3 separate regions of the Homo sapiens genome follow, and regions 2 and 3 are each linked to region 1. The links are contacts of gene promoters, found by promoter capture Hi-C in blood cells and fetal thymus (Javierre and others, 2016). All regions are on one chromosome and are shown on one strand. The core of a region is centred on a gene start or on the middle of the fragment in contact, and the rest is flanking DNA. Distances in the headings are between cores, read along the strand shown.

Evidence for each region. The method cuts DNA at HindIII sites, captures the fragments that hold promoters and counts their contacts. A CHiCAGO score of 5 or more calls a contact.
Region 2: the fragment with the promoter of GTF3C1 here is called in contact with the fragment with the promoter of VPS35L in region 1 in 1 of 17 cell types (fetal thymus); the score reaches 5.6 in fetal thymus.
Region 3: a contact is called between a fragment that was not itself captured here and the fragment with the promoter of VPS35L in region 1, in 3 of 17 cell types (total CD8 T cells, fetal thymus and naive CD8 T cells). The highest score is 9.3, in total CD8 T cells.

The regions. Positions count from the first base shown.
Region 1 is chr16:19,554,151-19,557,541 of GRCh38, forward strand. It overlaps VPS35L (VPS35 endosomal protein sorting factor like), which reads left to right and starts at 1,553. Exons shown (of 31, transcript NM_020314.7): 1 at 1,553-1,596. The coding sequence starts at 1,580. RefSeq lists enhancers at 1,148-1,627, 1,187-2,149, 2,008-2,237. The HindIII fragment of the contact is 7,423 bases long and covers 1-2,334 here.
Region 2 is chr16:27,547,996-27,551,386 of GRCh38, forward strand. It overlaps GTF3C1 (general transcription factor IIIC subunit 1), which reads right to left and starts at 1,918. Exons shown (of 37, transcript NM_001520.4): 1 at 1,675-1,918. The coding sequence starts at 1,895. KATNIP (katanin interacting protein) reads left to right here and starts at 2,149. Exons shown (of 28, transcript NM_015202.5): 1 at 2,149-2,182. The coding sequence starts at 2,176. RefSeq lists enhancers at 1,815-1,894, 1,905-2,014. The HindIII fragment of the contact is 1,688 bases long and covers 844-2,531 here.
Region 3 is chr16:13,923,388-13,926,778 of GRCh38, forward strand. ERCC4 (ERCC excision repair 4, endonuclease catalytic subunit) reads left to right here. Exons shown (of 11, transcript NM_005236.3): 3 at 3,174-3,369. LOC105371093 (a long non-coding RNA gene) reads right to left here and starts at 3,219. Exons shown (of 4, transcript XR_007065000.1): 1 at 3,138-3,219. The HindIII fragment of the contact is 2,829 bases long and covers 442-3,270 here.

The DNA.
Region 1 (3,391 bases), core at 303-2,802:
GACTTTTCAGAAGGTAAAACTCAGGCTGGAAATGTCTTAACTTATTAAGAGATAGAAGCCTGCTAAGGGAAGGAGAGGGAGAAAAGAGAATGCGAAGGTTGAAGCTCACATCAAAGCTGTTAATTTGCACAACTTTAAGAATCCTCCTCTTGTTACTGCCTAATCATGCAGTGTGAGCCTAGGAAAAGGCTCCTCACCTTGACCTCTTATTGAGATGTTGCATGTGATAACATGCATGGCTGTATGGGAAGAGCTCCTTGCTTTCCCGTGGCCACCCTTTAACCCTTGTTCACTTCCAGTGTTGGGAATAGCAGGTACGAGTGGATATACTTTCCTACTCATACTGAGCTGAACACTGGAGGGCCCGTTCTGGAGATGATCCTTTTCCCTGTCATAGGTCACCATCTCATGAACAACCACAGACCACCACCCCCGAATGAAAAGTAAGAGTTATAAAAACATCGAATGCTTTCTCTCTAAGGGACCATAATGGATATCTAAGTAAGTTATAAAAGTAATAATTAAAAAAAAAATTTTTTTTTGAGATGGAGTTTCGCTCTTGTAGCCCAGGCTGGAGTGCAATGGCGCAATCTCGGCTCACTGCAACCTCATCCTCCCGGGTTGGAGCAATTCTCCTGCCTCAGCCTCCCGAGTAGCTGGGATTACAGGCGCCCGCCACCATACCCAACTAGTTTTTGTATTTTTTAGTAGAGACGGGGTTTCACCATGTTGGCCAGGCTGGTCCCGAACTCCTGACATCAGGTGAACCACCCACCTCGGCCTCCCGAAGTTCTGGGATCATAGGCCTGAGCCACCGCTCCCGGCCTAAAATAATTTTTAAAAACGTTCTGTGGTCGAAATGGATATCCACCTTCCTAGAAACACTGCTTTGCCAAGTTGGACGAAATGCGAACCCTAATTTCCCCACGTGCATTAGCTGTAGTCAATCATATTAGATCTAGGGCAGCCCTCGGTTGCTAGTCGTGGGAAGGGCATTCTGCAAGTGTCTAAAACCGCCCGCAAAGCAGTGGGTAAAGCAGCGGCCTAGAGGGGGCATGGCTGTCCCACGCCAAACAGCGTATTAGCCGCAAAACCAGGTACTGGCTGAACCTCAGTTTGCGTCTTCGCTCCGCCGCCTTCTGGAGTCCTTTCTGCCCCTAGAGGACGCAGGTGAGCTAAGCAGCAGTCATGCCCTTTACCATCATGACGCCCGCAGGCGGGACCACCCGGCACTGTAGACAGCTGCCCTTTACAATCATGACTCATAGAAACTACGGCACTCTGGCCGTGGCCGACGTTGCTCCTCCGAAGCATGGCGCCGGCGGGAGTTGTAACCCGGGCTGTCCGGAGCGGGGAGCTGCCCCTCACAAGCATGGCGTCAGCTGAAAATGAAGCCTGTGCTGTGCGGAGCGTCGCCTGCCCCTCACAAGCATGGCGTCTGCAGAAGGTGCTGTGCGGCCGCTGCGGGGCGGCCAGCTGCCCTTCACAAACATGGCGGCCGAGGGGTGCGGGGAGTGGCGGGGTAAGGATGGGAAGCCGAGCAGACGGCCCCAGAACAAGCGGTCATGTGACTGGGAAGATGGCCGTCTTTCCTTGGTAAGGAAGCAGCGGCGGGTGGGCTTTGGAGAGGGGCTGTCCTTACTTGTGATGGGGTCGGCCTGGGTCTGAGAGTGTGAATTCCTCTCTGTCGGGTTCTGGTGGTCGACCGGCCACCCCCAAGTTGTCTTGACCGTAGAATCCCTGGCCGCTACCGCGGTCCAGCGGAGCAATCTGAAGCCAGACTGGCGGGTTCTTGGTTCTCTCCCCGTCTGCTGCCTCTCTGCGCCTTCCACGGGCCCCTGTCCATTCATTCCCTAAAGAAAACTTGAGTTTCCAGGCTTCCGCGTCCCCAGAAGTTGGCGCGGGTTCTGGGGTCGCTGGATGAGGGTAATGGTGGACTCAGCTTTTAAAGTCTGGACGAGTCGGGAGATCTGGCTGTTGGTCAGTTTCCTCAGCTCCTCTGTTCACCTGGAGACTTGCTTTTCTCATCTGTAAAATGGCCGCCATTCATCCTATCCTAGGCACAGCCCTCAGACTTATTCCTTGGCCTCAAGGAGCTGACAGTATAATGGGGCAGACGCACAGTAGAGGGATGTCTAAAGAAGGCATTCGGATGAGGCACCAAGAAGGGAGTGATTATCCCCACCAGGGGGCTAGGGGAAGGCTTCAGAGAGGAGGAGTTAAATTGGGTCTTGGAGGATGAATAGGAGTCCACCATAGGGAGGGCGTGGCGTGTGCCTGGTTGGCAGGCCCGTAGGTCCCTTGTGGTTGGAGTAGCTAGGAATGAGTGACTGAAGCTTCAGGGTTCAGCAGGTGGTATGTGTGTGAGTGAAGAACTTGAGGAAGTTGTGTTGTTGATGATAGTGGGATTTGGGGACGGGGAATCTCTCCTGCATCTCAGAAAGCGAGATAATTTACTTTCTCTTCAAATGATGTGAAGTAGCTTAGATTAAATGAGCAAATGAAAGACCTTAGAAATAATCAGGTACAACCTTCTGCTTTTGAGCTTGATAAACACTTCATTTTGTCTTATTCCTTTCATTTGCCCAACACTTAAGAGACTGCTTCCTTGACACGCTACATCAGCATTGAATGCCTCTGAGCACTTCCACACCCTGAGGTTTTTTTTTTTTTTTCAGTTAATAGTCATGCTGGCTGGGTATGGTGGCTCACGCCTGTAATCCCAGCACTTTGGGAGGCCGAGGCTGGCGGATCACCTGAGGTCAGGGGTTCGAGACCAGCCTGGCCAACATGGCGAAACCTAATCTCTACTAAAAATACAAAAATTAGCTGGGCTAAATTAGTGGTGGCACGCACCTGTAATCCCAGCTACTTGGGAGGGTGAGGCAGGAGAGTCGCTTGAACCTGGGAGGCGGAAGCTGGAGTGAACCGAGATCATGCCACTGCACTCCAGCCTGGGCAACAGTGAGACTCTGTCTCAAAAAAATAATAATAAAAAATGAAAAAGTCATGCTGGCTTGACCAAAAAGCTAACCAAAAACATGAGAAACATTTGACTTCAGTGGATTTATCTGAAGTTTGCAATCAGAAAATCCAGGAAGATGCTGTCTTAATCTCTGCATCCCAGTACATTTCTACCTTTGGAATTTTAATTTTATATTACAAGCAGGCAAACAGGTGCCATAACGCTTTTAGTATTTAGGGTCTCTATAGTTCCTAATATGGCCGTGCTCTAAATATTTTGTTGTTGTTGTTTTTGTTGAGACGGAGTCTCGCCCAGGCTTGATTGCAGTGGCGTGATCTTGGCTCACCGCAACCTCCGCCTCCCGGCTCAAGTGATTCTTTGCCTCACTCTCCCGAGTAGCTGGGATTACAGGCGATGCCACCACAC
Region 2 (3,391 bases), core at 668-3,167, 8.0 Mb after region 1:
CCTTGCTAGTTGACTTTTAGCATGCCACTTGACCCCTCAGGGCCTCGATTTTCTCTTCAGGAAAATGGGGAGAATATTACCCATCTCCTAAGGTTTCTGTAAAAATTAAATAACATGTTGTATTAAGGATCTTAGCACAGTCCTAGCTATTCCTCATTCCCTACCTCCAATTCCACACTTCAGCCACTTACTTCACATTTGCTGTTCTCTGTCCAACAGTCCTCTTTGCCAACTGGCTGCCTAAATCCAACCTTTAAGTTTTGTCTCGAACATTATTTTATTTTATTTTTGAGACAGAGTCTCACTCTGTCACCCAGGCTGGAGTGCAATGGCTGAATCTCAGCTCACTGAAACCTCTGTCTCCCAGGTTCAAGTGATTCTCCTGCCTCAGCCTCCTGAGTAGCTGGGATACAGGCATGCGCCACCACGCCAGGCTAATTTTTGTATTTTTAGTAGAGATAGGGTTTCACCACGTTGGTCAGGCGGGTCTTGAACTGCCGACCTTGTGACCCATCCACCTCAGCCTCCCAAAGTACTGGGATTGCAGGCATGAGCTGCTGCACCCGGCCTGTCTTGGACATTATTACCTCTTGGAACCTCCCCTGACCCTCACAATATGGCTTAAGAGCACAGACGCTGAAAATAGCCTGGGTTCAAATCAATTCTTAGTCACTTATTGCCCCCAGAACCTTAGGTTACATAATCCCTCTCTGTGACTCAGTGTCTTCCTCTGTAAAATGAGGACGATAACAGCACCTACCTCATAGGTGAGGATCAAGTGAATTTAATCTCCTGTTTAACGGAGTTTAATCAAGTGAGGATCAAGTGAGTTTAAGCTCCTAAAGCTTCTAGAATAGATTCTTAGAACAGCAATGTGGCCGGGCGCCGTGGCTCACGCCTGTAATCACAGCACTTTGGGAGGCCGAGAGGTGCGGATTGTCTGAGGTCAGGAGTTCGCGACCAGCCTGGCCAACATGATGACACCCCATACCTACTAAAAATGCAAAAATTAGCCGGGCGTGGTGGAACATGCCTGTAATCCCAGTTACTCAGGAGGCTGAGGCACGAGAATCGCTTGAACCTGGGAGGCGGACGGAGGTTGCAGTGAGCCAAGATCGCGCCACTGCACTCCAGCCTGGGCCACAGAGAGAGACTCTATCTCAAAAAAGAAAAAAAAGAACAGCACCTCACCCATGAAGTCCCTGATAAATGTCAGCTTTTAGCATTATCGCTAATTGTCCTGATACGCAGATCTCGAGTTGCCCTAGGCTATCTGCACCGAATGAATATACCATGAGGGTCTGTTGATCTCAGGAGTCTCCAGTCTGGCTCTAAAGTGTCTTTCCTGCTCTAATCCTATCCTCCAATGTAAAGGAAACATTCTTTTAAGCCTGAAGAATATCCCCAATCCTGTTCGCCATTACCCCAAAACACACACAGGGACAAAACGGGACATCACTAGATTCTCCCCCTCCCCCCGCCAACTCCATCGGACTCCAGGGCCCTGCCAGGCCTGAGGGACCCCAGATTAGCCTTACCGCCGTGCCCCAACTCAATCAACAGGCCTCCGGTACTTGCACAGCCCCACTCCATTCCCCCGCCCTGCCCCCAGCTCCATCAGCCCCCGGGCCCTGCGCCCGCCCGCCCGCCCGCCAGGCCAGGCCGCCCGCTGACCGGTCCTGGAGCTGTAGGTCGGGTCGCTCCCGAGGCTCCTCATAGAAGCTGATGCCCGGGTGCGTGGCGAGGGCCCGCCAGAGAAACTCCTGCGTGCAGGGTTCCAAAGGCAGCGGGAAGGGCGGCACTCGCGTCTCCAGCCGGCTCCACAGCGCTGGCAGACACAGGCCATCGAGCCCCTCCAGAGCGACTTCGTCCAACAACGACTCCAGCGCGTCCATTGCTACTTCAGTCGGCGGCGCCCGGGGCGCATGCGCAACGCACCGCCAAGGGCCTTGGTCCATCGCGCCTGCGCACAACGATCCGGGGCCCGGGGAGGTGGGTCAGACCCAGGGTTCGGAGGAGGAGTTCCAGCGCGCCGGCATGACGTCACTCCCCGGGGGCGGGCTCAGTAAGTGGAGCTCCACCGTCATTGGTCCGGGGCCCCGCAGTAACCAGGGGAACTGCAAACAGTGTAGAGGCCGCTTCCGGTTCGAGCTCCCGGAACCGCCGCCTCTAGGGATGGACGGTGAGTGTCTGTGGGCCCCTCCGGGAGGTCGGGCTGTTATTCTCCCATCCCTCCCGACCGCGCTTTGGGCAGAATCCTAGGCCATGAACCCCTGGACCACCACTTCCTGACCCAAGGGGGTCTCCGAAATGAGGGATAGGGAGGCTTAGTGGTCTGGAACGCGGAGGAGAGCCTGGGGGAGTGGTCAGTGCTGTGACCATTCTGCTCGGCTGTGGTCGTGAAGGAAACCGGTACTGGCCGGGAGCTCAGTGAAGGGATGTAGGGTGGGGAAGGAGAAGTAGAGGTCTGAGGAGGGTCTTGTGAATGTTGGGATGTGGAACTGTCGGATTTGGGAGTTGATATGAAAACAAGCTTGATCGTGGGAGTGCAATCGTCAGGTGCTGGGAAAGGGAATTGGTGTGGGGGGTGAAGGGAGTTTAGGAAATACTCCCTTTCTGTGCCTTGGCGTTAATAATAATAGCTCCCTTTAACAAAGTGCTTTCCAGTACCAAGAACTCTGTAAGTACTCTTGGGCAACACCTCGCTAAGCTTCATACCAGCCTTTTGAGTTCAGCGTTGTTCCATTTTACAGATGATGAAACTGAGGCTCAGAGGTGTTAAGGAACTTGCCCAAAGTCAAACAACCAGCATGTAGCAGAGTGAGTGAGAAACCCAGACACCCTGTCTCTGGAGCTGAATTATGGAGCTTGAGATTTGGACCGGTTTTGAGGGTCCCTTTATTCCAGAGGTTGTAAATGCAGATGTCTGCAGAGGAGAGTCTAGTGAGCCGGATTGAGGCTGTAACTGAAAATCAATTCCTCACCTGAAAGGAAAGCTGCTCACCAAGCACCAGCTGATTGTCCTCTTGGGGTACTTCTCAAAAACAGGGTTGGCCAGTCACTCTGAAGGCCAGAGACAGCTTGTGGGCCCCCATTTAGGGATCCCTGATTAGAGTCATGGTATTGACAATTGGAAGCAAATGGAAAATAGGCTATTCTGATATCTCACTTTGCAGATGGGAAGACTAAAGTCTAGAGAGACTGGTAGGGTCTGGGCTAGAGTCCAGATCATTTTTCTAATTACAGCACTGTCCCTCACTTCTCGGGAATTTGTTCCTGGGGAATCCACATTCTTTTTATATTCACTGAATGTAGTGTGGAGAAAATGTTTTTAATTGAACATTCTGTCATATGCTTAAAATATATCTTTTCCCTTTGTACTTTAGAGGTA
Region 3 (3,391 bases), core at 606-3,105, 5.6 Mb before region 1:
AACTTCTGGAGGCAGAGAGACTCTGAAATTCATAATCTTATTCCCACTGTATCTGTCATGTTGCCCTGAACCTAGATGACCCTCAAGAAAAATTTGATAAATAAATGTGTCAATGAATGCTTCAATGGTAAACCGACTGAAGAAGTTTGGTTACTCTTTTATAACTTTTATAATTGTTATAAACAGTATCATAGGCTCACCTGGTTTTGAATGCTAACACCCTGCTTACAAAGCAAACTCCTTAATTTTCATTAACCCCAGTTTTCTCATTAAGAAAACAGTGCTTCCTGAAGTTATTATAAGGATTAAGTTAATAAAATAATTTCTTAGTATAGTGCCTGGTACACAACAAACTCTTAGTAATTCATACCAAATAAAATTGGCCTTTTGTAACCAGAAATCTTGATACACCAGTCTTTTACTGTTTGCTGCTTTCTTATAAGCTTGGTTTTACTTTATTTTTTAAATTGATTTAAAAAAATTTTTTTGTTGTGTTTAAAACTACCACTAGGTGTCAGTAATATCCTGTGACTTTCAGTTACAGTGCAACCTAATTAGGCAGAGAGCAATGTGAATTTATGCAACGTTGAAGTCTGGCTTATCTGTAGCTCCTAATGAAAAATGCCAAATTCCCTCCTCCTTTCTGATCAAAGCCCACCGAATAATGAAGCTGGAGCTGTTACTGATGCTTGGCTGAGTGGAATGTAAATGAATGCCAAAAATGAATTCTTTTGAATTCTTTCATCCCCTGGGATCATCCCCCAGGACTGACCAAAGAGCAGTGCGTGAAGTGCAGGTAACCCTCTGGAAAGGCTGAATCCCCCAGCCCCAACTTCTTCACCTGTCACCACCCATTATTACCACCACACCCCACCCTGGGAATCCCTGCTAACCAGAACTCCTAACACGTGGGAGAACTATATAAATATCTGGTGAGGTTGTACCTTGAAAAGAACAGGACAGGAGGATGCTTTCATTGCCAAAACTGACCCTGACATCTCCAGACAGAACTAAGAACACACTTTCTGGGAAATATATATGTATTTTTCAGTTACACTTTTGATTTGTGTACCCAGTGCTGTGCCTCCACTTTATATTCATTCAACAAATATTTAACTCACTAAGGGTCCCTTGTTTGGCAGGAAGGGTGCTGAAGATAGACAGATGAATGGGACAGTATGGTGAACTCGTGAGTTAGACTGCTTCTGGGTTTGAGTTATCTTCATCTTGCACCAGCTGTGTATTTTTAGGCAAGTTTCTTAATTTCTCTATGCCTCAGCTTACTCACCCGTACATTGGTGATAAAGATAGTACCTTCCTCCTAGGATTGTCAGGGTGAAATGAAATGCTTATATGTAAAATACTTGGTAGCATGGCACATAGTCAGCATTCTATGATCTCTGTGATCTCTGCCTGTTGGTGTTACGATGTTCCTGTTCTCGGGCAGTTTAATGGAGGAGACAAGTAAAGAAGTAGTTATAGTACAGTATGGGTACAAAATGTCATAGGAACAAAAAAAACTAAAGTAGGCTTTTGTGGAGCTAAAACTCCTCCCAAAAACCTAACCTGCTTCTATTATTTTTATTTTTTGAAAAAGGAGTGTCTTGAGTTGGTGTGACTAAATAGGAATAACATGATTTTACACATGATTTGGAACCTTCGGCCTCCCACTTGCTTGCTGGATGACCTTGGTTAAGTTGCTTCCCTTCCTTGGTCTCATCATGATACCTACTGCATGGAATTATCATAACAATTAAATGAAATGAAAATCTATAGAAACACCTAACCCAGTTACCTGGGATGTAGTATCAGTTCTCTTCTTCCTCCTGGGTTCCAACCAAAATAAAGACAACTTTTTGGAGCGCAACATTTTCTTAAATTGAGTTTCTCCTTTTCTTTGGAAGTTCATTTTTATTATTCTTGACTCTACGTAATATTTCAATCCAGGCTAACAAAATGTGGCCTCTTAGAGTCCTTGGGAAAACCCACCAATTAGGTACAGAATATTTTCTGAGTAGTAAATTAGTTATGTACGTGTATTGGGGGGGTTATTGAAAATCCTTTGTCTATGAATTCCTAAATAACATTATTAATTTTTACTATATTTGGAAGATAATTTGCTGAGCTAGAGTAAATTTAGCTCCATCCACCTCTATCCAAAACTTAAACATTAAAATAGTAAAATCTGAGTTTAGTTTATTGAACTATTAGAAGGGTCATAAATCACTGTTAGTATTATTGTCCATACCCTTCCAGATATGAGAACTGGATCAAAAGCATGCAAGTACCATTATGCCAAATATATATAAGGTAACCAGCTTGATTTAGGTCTAAAAGACAGACTCGTCTTGGAGTAATTGTGGTTTTGATCTAGAAAGCATGTCTGTATGCCTTTATGTCATCTCATGTTTCTCCCTAACTTAGCACTAATCACACTGCATCAGATGACACAATATATATGAAAGATCTGGGTCAGTAGTCTCATTTCATAAATAACAAAGCATGTATAATTGTTCTTATTTTTGAGATGCTGAGGTGTTATAATCATGTACACCCCCAAAGACATGTATAAGTATGTCGATTGAAGGTTTTTGTTTTAAATGGACTAATTTACCTCTGAATTGACTATCTTCTGATTCTGAAAATTGAATTCATCTCATAGGTAATGTAGATGTTGCCCAGACTTCTAAAATGTGGCTATTTTGTATAGTCCACATCTGATTCATACATTAAAAAAAAAAAATTCATGACCTACTTTGCTTTCAGAAATTCTTCCTCTGACATGCCAGAAACACCCCACCCCAGGGCCTGTGCCCTCACTGTCCCCTCAGCCTGGCAGCCTGGAACTCTCTTGGCCCAGATGGTCACAAGGCTCCATCCAGCCTTTATTCAGATACCACCTTGGTGAGACCACCCCTCATACATACTCCCTCTCCTCCTTCTCTGATTCATTTTTTCTTCTCAGCACTTGTAGCATCCTAAATATTTTACGTATTTATATTGTTTATAGTCAATTCCTTGAGGACAGGGATTTATCTCTGTTCTGTGCGTGGCTATATGCCCAGTCTAGAATGGTGCTTATTCATTCTCTTGTAAGTACTTAAGAAAAATGTGATGAATGAATGGCAATTACCTACCTGTTCTGTAGTTTAAATTATGTTTCTCCCCCTCAGGCATCTTGGTGTATAGAGCCCACAGAATAATCGAGTCTTGTCAAGAAGCATTCATCTTGCGCCTCTTTCGCCAGAAAAACAAACGTGGTTTTATTAAAGCTTTCACAGACAATGCTGTTGCCTTTGATACTGGTTTTTGTCATGTGGAAAGAGTGATGAGAAATCTTTTTGTGAGGAAACTGTATCTGTGGCCAAGGTAAAGAACATTATGTGACAAA